Linked DNA regions of Homo sapiens: region 2 is linked to region 1. The links are contacts of gene promoters, found by promoter capture Hi-C in human tissues and cell types (Jung and others, 2019). All regions are on one chromosome and are shown on one strand. The core of a region is centred on a gene start or on the middle of the fragment in contact, and the rest is flanking DNA. Distances in the headings are between cores, read along the strand shown.

What was found. Contacts are between HindIII fragments. The study calls those that stand out against the background at their distance.
Region 2: a contact is called between a fragment that was not itself captured here and the fragment with the promoter of TOMM20L in region 1, in 2 of the 25 tissues and cell types used here (aorta and bladder).

Annotation. Positions count from the first base shown.
Region 1 is chr14:58,392,816-58,397,266 of GRCh38, forward strand. It overlaps TOMM20L (translocase of outer mitochondrial membrane 20 like), which reads left to right and starts at 3,115. Exons shown (of 5, transcript NM_207377.3): 1 at 3,115-3,278; 2 at 3,483-3,526. The coding sequence starts at 3,143. It overlaps TOMM20L-DT (TOMM20L divergent transcript), which reads right to left and starts at 2,890. Exons shown (of 2, transcript NR_187161.1): 1 at 2,486-2,890. RefSeq lists silencers at 2,923-3,442, 3,513-3,562. The HindIII fragment of the contact is 11,412 bases long and covers 1-4,451 here.
Region 2 is chr14:58,329,739-58,334,033 of GRCh38, forward strand. It overlaps ARID4A (AT-rich interaction domain 4A), which reads left to right. Exons shown (of 24, transcript NM_002892.4): 11 at 265-431. Among named protein-coding and RNA genes, the nearest start is that of ARID4A, 33 kb to the left of the region's middle. RefSeq lists an enhancer at 1,653-1,702. The HindIII fragment of the contact is 5,123 bases long and covers 1-4,295 here.

The DNA of each region.
Region 1 (4,451 bases), core at 1,865-4,364:
ACCAATAAAAATGAACTATTGATACAATAACATGGATTAATCTCAAAATAATTGTACTGAGTGAAAGAAGCCAGACAATAAAAGAGTACATACTATATGATTCCATTTATATAATACTCTAGAAAATGTAAACTAGTCTACCGTCACAGAAAGTAGGGCATGTTTGTGGCAAGGGAAAGGAAGGATGGAGAAGGTATTAAAGAAGTACCTTTAATGGTAGATAGATATATGGTTACTATCTTGATTTTGATGACAGTTTCCTGGATGCATACATATGTCAAAATTTATAAAACTGTACACCTTAAATATCTGCAATTTATTGTATATCAATTTTACCTCGATAAAGTGATTTAAAAGAAAGAGAGTGGCCGGGCATGGTGGTTCATGCCTGTAATCCCAGCACTTTGGGAGGCTGAGGCGGGCAGATCACCCAAGGTCAGGAGTTCAAGACTAGCCTGGCCAACATGGTGAAACCCCATCTCTATTAAAAATACAAAATTAGCTGGGCGTAGTGGTGCACGCCTGTAATCCCAGCTACTCAGGAGGCTGAGGCAGGAGAATTGGAAATCGTGCCATTGCACTCTAGCCTGGGCAACAAGTGAAACTCCATCTCAAAAAATAATAATAAATAAATAAAAGAAAGAGAGCTATCATCCAGCATAGAACCATGTTTTGAAGACAACTATTAGTGCTATCTCAATATGAAAATTATCAAAGCTTTATAGGAATTCTGATCACCAAATTAGCAAGAGTGGTGCCTATATCTGAGAAGAAAATATCTACCTGTCCCATAGAAACTTGCCTAATTTTTCAATTATGTTTCCTCATGGCCTCTCTCTCTGGCAATTTCAACTTTAGAAATCTGTTTATTCCTAATTGCTGTAATAATTCTCCTACTTTTATGTGTCACTGTTTACTTTGCTCCTGAATACCCAGCTAATCTCAACAGTTTCTCTCGCTCCATCCCTCTCCATTTACCACAGGCATTAACTATGTGAAAGGGAAGGTGAAAGATGGGAAGAAAGCCACAAGATTGGTGGTCTTAGAAGACAAGTTGCCGTCAACCTAAAGAAAGATCAATTGAAGCTGGGCTAAACCCTTGCCAAGATTCTGAACCAGTCCCTGATCACCAGTAATACTTACAAGATGCTGACACTATCCTCTCCTCTGTGTTTACAATCAGGTTTTCACAATAACCAAGTTCCCTTCTAGAAGACAATTATCATGAGAAAAAACATACAGTACTCAAGAAAGCATGATATGTAACTTACCCCTGCTAACTCTTAAATTTTGAGGGCTGAGGCTACTACTCAGACCCATTGGTTTTTTAATCTATCTACTAATTTATAATTTACCTATCTATCTCTATATATATATATATATATATATATATATATATTTTTTTTTTTTTTTTTTTGAGACAGAGTCGCACTCTGTTGCCCAGGCTGGAGTGCAGTGGTGTGATTGATCTCAGTTCACTGCAACCTCCCCGCCTCCTGGGTTGAAGCAATTCTCGTGACTCAGCCTCCCAAGTAGCTGGGATTACAGGCTTGTGCCACCATGCCCAGCTAATTTTTGTATTTTAAGTAGAGATGAGGTTTCACCATGTTGGCCAGGCTGGTCTCAAACTCCTGACCTCAGGTGATCCACCCACCTCGGTCTCCCAGTGCTGGAATTACAGGCGTGAGCCAACACGCCCAGCCACCTATGTATTTTTATAGAGACAGGGTCTCATTCTGTCACCCAGGCAGGAGTGCAGTGGCAGTGATCAGAGCTCACTGCAGCCTCCAACTCCTAGGCTCAAGTGATCCCTGCAGAGTAGCTAGGGCTACAGGTGCACACCACGACCAGTATTTTTTTGTTTTGTTTTATCGAGACGGAGTCTTGCTCTGTTGCCCATGCTGGAGTACAGTGACACAATCTCAGCTCACTGCAACCTCCGCCTCCCGGATTCAAGCAGTTCTCCTGTCTCAGCCTCCCAAGTAACGGATTACAGGCACATGCCACCACACCCAGCTAATTTTTGTATTCTTAGTAGAGACAGTGTTTCACCATGTTGGCCAGGCTGGTCTCGAACTCTTGACCTTGTGATCTGCCTGCCTCGGCCTCCCAAAGTGCTGGGATTACAGGCATGAGCCATTGTGCCCGGCCCTTGTTTTGTTTTTTTAGAGATGGGTTCTTGCAATGTTGCCCAGGCTGGTTGGTCTCCAAGTCCTGAGCTCAAGTGATCCTCCCACCTCAGCCTCCCAAAGTGTTGGGATTTCAGTTGTGAGCCACTGCACCTAGCTAGACCCACTGGTATTCAGAGCAGTGATGAGCACCTTGCTATGCACACACTAGTAATAACAGTAAATTGTAAATCAGTAAATAGCAATTGTATAACCTAAATAAAAATGAATTATCTAGTTCTTTAGGTCCCTAGCTTATGCCTTTTCTCCTCCTTAGTAGAAAAGTCAGAACTCTGGTATTTAGGACAAAGTCTTACCTTCTTTCTTTCTGCTGTGTCCGCTGAGTAAGGCAAATATTAGAAAAGCAGCTAGGCCAGTATCATGGGACTCTCAGTTGTTTTTGCTTTGGGACCTTTGACTGTCAGTCTCAGCCCAGCAATTTAACGTATTTTTCTAGATTAAACAGTGTTGCTTCTGAATTCCTCCCTTGGACCTTGGACTGCTGGGTCCTTTCAGGAGACAAAGGATACCAGATTGGGGAGTACGGGCTACTGTTAGACAATGTGAACTAGGAGGTGACCAAAGTTGACCTTAGAGTCAACTTAATTTTGCAGGTGAGGGAACAGAGACCTAAACGACCACTGGCTCCCAGTAAAGCAGATTCGCAGCATACTGTGCTTTGCCTGAATGGGTGTTGTAGACACAGGGGCAGAGGCGTGTTTGGAGAAAGGGTTCAGAATTTGGAGTGCGACAGACGTAGGTTCGAACAGAGCTCTGCTACTCTGTGGCTGTGAGGGCTCCCGCACACACCCTCTCGAACGCTCGGCTTCCTCATCGGTCCGCAAGCCTGGGTGCGAGGCGTCAACGCGCAGCTGGGTGCGCAGGAGGCCCCGAGGCCGGATGGGCCGCCGCGCCGACGCCCCCTGCCGGCCGGCCCGCGCCCAACGCTCGGCTTGTGGGACGCCCGCGGTCGGATGCCCTCCGTCCGCTCCCTCCTCCGCCTCTTGGCCGCCGCGGCGGCCTGTGGCGCCTTCGCCTTCCTGGGCTATTGTATTTACCTCAACCGGAAGCGGCGCGGGGACCCCGCGTTCAAGCGCCGCCTGCGGGACAGTGAGTGGGACCGAGGCGGAGGCGCGGCCGGGCCGGGCAGCGCGGGCGGGCTGCCGGCCGGGAGGGCCCCCCACTGAGAGGCCGGGCCGTGAGTGCCTCAGCCTCTGCCGAGGGGCCCGCGGCGCCCGGGCAGGCAGGACCACTGGGCCCACGCGTGCCTCTGGACGGGCCTCCCAGCCAGCATGTGCCGTGTTGTGTTCGCAGAAAGAAGAGCAGAGCCTCAAAAGGCTGAGGAGCAGGGCACGCAGGTGCAGTGCTTTCGATCCGCACAGGTAGCTCAGTAGACGCAGGTCCGGGCTCGCTGGGTTGCTTGGCTCCTGGCGGGCTCGGCAGCAGGTAGTTAGTTCCCTCAGCCGCCCGTGCCCGGGAAGAGGCCTGCCCTCGCGCGCCACGCACCGCCTCAGGCCCAGTCACTCTCCTCTCACAAAAGGGAGGGAAGGAAGGAGGAAGAAGTTGGAGTTATAAAAAGGCAGCTGCAAAGCAAAACACTGTACAACAGGCACTTCTTTTAACTGGAAGAAGGAAGAGGAGCCTTTTGCCCTGTCAGAGCCGCACAGGACACTTAAAAACCCAGGCTGGCCACGGTCACATGGCAGTAACTTCTAGATTGTTCTCCCGCAGGGCCTTTCTTGTAGCTCAGAAGCAGAAGGCATCTTCGTGTTTTGTAAATCTCTGCGGCAAAATTTGATTAGTCCCTTTTTTGTTGTTTTTAAGAGGCGGGCCGGGCTTGGTGGCTCACGCCTGTAATCCCAGCACTTTGGGAGGCAAGGCGGGCAGATCACGTGAGGTCAGGAGTTTGAGACCAGCCTGGCCAACATGGTGAAAGCCTGTCTCTACTAAAAATACAAAAATTAGCCGGGAGTGGTGGCGTGTGCCTGTAGTCTCAGCTACTTGGGAGACTGAGGCAGGAGAATTGCTTGAGTCCGGGAGGTGGCAGTTGCAGCCTGGGCGACAGAGCAAGACACTGTCTATAAAAAAAGAAAGAGACAAGGGTGTTCCTATGTTGCCCAGGCTGAACTAGAACTCCTGGCCACAAGCAATCCGCAGTTGATGCTGGATGTTTACTTAGCTGAGATTGTTAGCCAGAGCACCTACACGTCTGTGTGATCTGGGATTCTTCATTTGTGTGATGGGCTGTGTCCCAAGGGACAAGCAAACACATATATGTATGTG
Region 2 (4,295 bases), core at 832-3,331, 64 kb before region 1:
TTTTTAATGTCTAGATACAATATTTGATTTGTGATTAGATAAGTTTAACTTTTCGTATTTTACCATTGTCTCACAGTATTCCGTAAAGTAATAACAAATGTTTATATAACATTATAACTTATGAAATATGTTAAAGCTTACTGTATCATTTTATAAATGACAGCCGAATTTGAATTCAGATCTTTGATTCTGAATGCCATGCCTTTTCTATTGTTCTATGCTGCCAATTCCATAGCAACTGCTGAAGTACATTTTCACTCTTAGGGCTTCAGAAAGCAAGCATCTTCTTAAAAACTAGAGTTGTTCCTGATAATTGGAAAATGGATATAAGTGAAATCCTTGAGTCATCCAGTAGTGATGATGAAGATGGCCCAGCTGAAGAAAATGATGAAGAGAAGGAAAAGGAGGCCAAAAAGACAGAAGAAGAGGTGGTAGGTGTAATTTCATGTTTGTAACAAAAACATCTTAATACTCTCTAGTGAAAATAATACCTTCATATATTTTTCCCTCTGTTTAGATTCTCTATTATTTGTTTCTGTCCGTTTCTAGCATTGCTTAATTTGGGTGTTGAGGAAGCATTTTGGCTCATAGCATAGTGTGTAAATCAGAACTAATTCTTAGTAAGAGATTACAAGAAAATACTTTTCAGGTTAGTTAATCAACAAGTGCAAACTGGTTTTTTTGGGGTCTTTTCCAAAACAACCCAGGAGGGAAAAAAATGTAATTTTTAGGTATTTTATATGTGTAACTCATTTAAACTACTACCATATGAAGTAACTGTTGTTATCCTACTTTAAAGGTAAGGAAAGGGAGATTCAGAAAAGTTAAGTAACTTTCCCAAGCTGGCACAACTAAAATGGGTAGAAGAGGGATTTGTACTCAGGTCTGGCCTGTCTCAACTTTAAAACCTCTTTCAGACATTTCACAATATTTCAAGGATAATTAAGGTTAAAAAAAATCCTATCCAAACCCCAAAGAAAATTTCATTTGGCAATTTGATAAATCATAGAAAATATTTAGATTATATGTTCTAAGTGCTAATGGTTTTCTTTATAATATTGCCATGTCATTTATAATATGCATATAATTGTAGGAAATCATCCATGGAGTACTTCATGATTGCTTATATGAATACTGTTGTTTATTCTGCAGTGTTGTATCAAATGGGATAAACTGTCTAGTACATTTTTGGTTGTTACGGGGTAAAAGGGTTTAGGGGCAAGACAAAGACAATGAATTTACTGAAAAGGGGGACCTATTTGAGCATGAAAAATATTGGCCTGGAAAAATGTGGGATTCTTGTTTCTGTTTTAAATACACAAATATGAATTTATGAAATGAAACGAGTATAGTCATATGTAATGAAGGGCATACGCTATTTCTTTCCTTTTACTTCCCCTGCAGTATTTGGTTTTTTTACACTCTGAAATCAGAATGGCGGTTCATACTTACAGGCTGCCTACAGAGTTGCCATAGTAACGTGCTGTTGGTTTTAAGTGAGCATGCTCGGAAAGACAGGAAGGTTTAGCAGAGGCTTGGCAGTTTGCCAATGGAGGTTTGCCAGATGCTTTGAAATGGGCTGTCTTTCTTTTCCTTTCATGTAATGTCTGATTTTTATGTGGAAGAGAATGTAAGTAGTGCTGTATAACCCTGCGGATGCTATGCCCTAAGAGGGAAAGCAAATATTTGCAAGTCAGACTGAAAAATGTCCAGACCCTGTACTGATTAAGTAGAAGGGGAATCTAACCACTTTGCATTTGAAAGAAAATGCAGCATATAGGTAAGATTTTTTTGTGTGTTTAGTTACCATTTTGATTGCCAAAAACGGGATTAAATAAGAATTTTAGGTATTGATGATGTAGCTGATAGGGAAGGACTCAGAACCAAGCGATATTCTTTCTTGTAAAAAAGACAGTAGGAGTCTATTTTTAGAATATCAATGGATGAAGGCTATTTTTCTGAAACAAGATAGATTCTGAAATGAAAATGATAATGAGACAGTTTGGCAAAATTCAGGATTTAAAGTCAGAATATTAAATGTGATTTTTGTATTTTATCTGTATTTATTTATAGATTATATGTTTTCAGGCTAATTAGGCCACATTTTCAGGGTGTGAACTGTTGCAAATCTGTGATTTAGCTTTTGTTTTTTAAATTAACCTTAGGATCTTATATTGTCCAATATTGAAGAAAGATTAGTCCCTTTATTTTTGCTAATACTTTTAATTGCTGTCCGTTCCAGAATGCATTTTCCCTACCCCCCCCCCCCCAAAAAACCCTGAAATTTTAAACAAAGAGGGTAAAAAGAGCTTTGTAGGAAGTGGCAGAGGGAGATTATAAAATAGTAAATTGTAAGTAGTGCTCTTATTACAATGATTAATTTCATAAATATTGTAATGTTTTATTCAAGCTGTGAGTATACGTTAGTATAAAAGAATGAAGAGCAGAGGCAAAGCTCTGTTACCTATTGTTTGCAGGTAATAGTAAATAAATTTTTAAAGATAAGGAAGCTTACAAGGATAGTATCTTAAAATGTGTCACCTAAATTATGAGCCTGTTAAAATTAAGTGAATCAGGATGCTTTTCATCTACTGGAAAATAACAGCAAAATTACAGAATTTAGGCACTGATTCATATGATTATTTATTTTTCGGATGGTCAATTTCATAGCATATGTTTTATTGAATTATTAAACTAATTCTTTTTCTCTGGCCATACAGGAAGATTTTCTTGAGTGAAATTTTGTTGCTTTAGAAAAAAATCAGCTGCATTTCTTGCTCTTGGGTTTAAGATTTAGTTGCTGAATCATTGTAACTTCTCTTGAACAGTTATTTTTTAAAAGTGTAATATACTGATAAACTGAAAAGCACTTTATATACAACAAAGAGGAGGGGAATGACTATGATGTAAAATGAATAAAAATCTGATAAGCCATGGCCTACCTGGCTTAGTCATTATGGGCCTTTATCACCATGTAGGTGAGGCTACGCTGTTTTATTACATTACAGATCAGAGTCTTCCCAAAATGTAACGATGCTATGCTTTTCGTGAAGATTCAATGTTGCATTACAATAATCAAAAAGATCTTTTGTAAGGTTCTCTAAACCACTATAACAATACTCTAGTCTGTTATTTGTTGTTTTTAGTATAGCAAGCAAATTTTATGCAGTAGAATCATACAAGTGTTAGATACTTCTGCAGTGTTAATGGGCAGTGAACATTGTTTTTATATTTGATGCTTTGGGTATCTTAACTAGCCTTAATAAGGAGATTTGAGATTCTGTGACTTTACATGAAAGAGCACCTTTTCCACTTAATATTAATTTGAATTCCTAAGTATTGGTAGTTCAGGATTTGAGTACAAGATATAGATCTCATGCTGTTACTGTGTGGGAAAAGATTGAGGATCTGACAGAAAGTAGGTTTTATCTATATTGATTACTTTAAACTTGAACTCAATAATTATATTGAAAAAATCCCTGGGGGATATTTTTATGGGTATTACTTAAATGTTTTTGTTAAGAAAATTTTGTATTAGAAAAGATATTACTGGATTTTTCACCTTTGAAATTGATCAAAAAGTCCATGTAAACATAAGTAATCATATCAATTATTCATTTATTCCTGATTTATATTTACTTTGGATAAATATAGGAGAGTTTTCTAAGGGTAAAATAAATGGATGGTTGTTTAGAAAACTTGAGTATTAAGGGGAATGTGACCAGTGTTAGCTTTTAAAATCATTTTGGCTTATAATAAGTAGGCTTATAGGTTGGGCCCTTTTAAAAATTTCCTATTTAGTAATGAAAATTTGAATTCAGTGAATTTTTAAATAACTACTGCCATTTCTGTAATACTGGGAATTGTTTAGGGACCACTGATACATTAATGCCTAAGATTATATTCCAGTATTGTAAAAAATCATAAGTACTTGAGTTTGTTTACTCATGGAAACATGAATATTATTTTTGATGTTTAAATCATATTATTTGTGCATATTTATGCCTTGTAGATTGTAAAGGCATTTGTTGGTGGTCATTCAAGATTACTTTAGGTATAAACTTACAGTAAATGCTGGATAACTTAGGAAATCCATGCTAAATTGGTGGAATTTAAAGAATATTTTAAATGTAATGTTAATATTTTAAGTATATCTAATAACTTAAGTTGCCAATGAAGCATTTCTAAGCAGATCCTAAAAAGCCAACCTTCCATGAATAATTGGGACTTTAGCTTGCAATCATATATGACAACTGACTTGCTAAAATCTTAAAGTTTAGCCCATTAAGCAAACA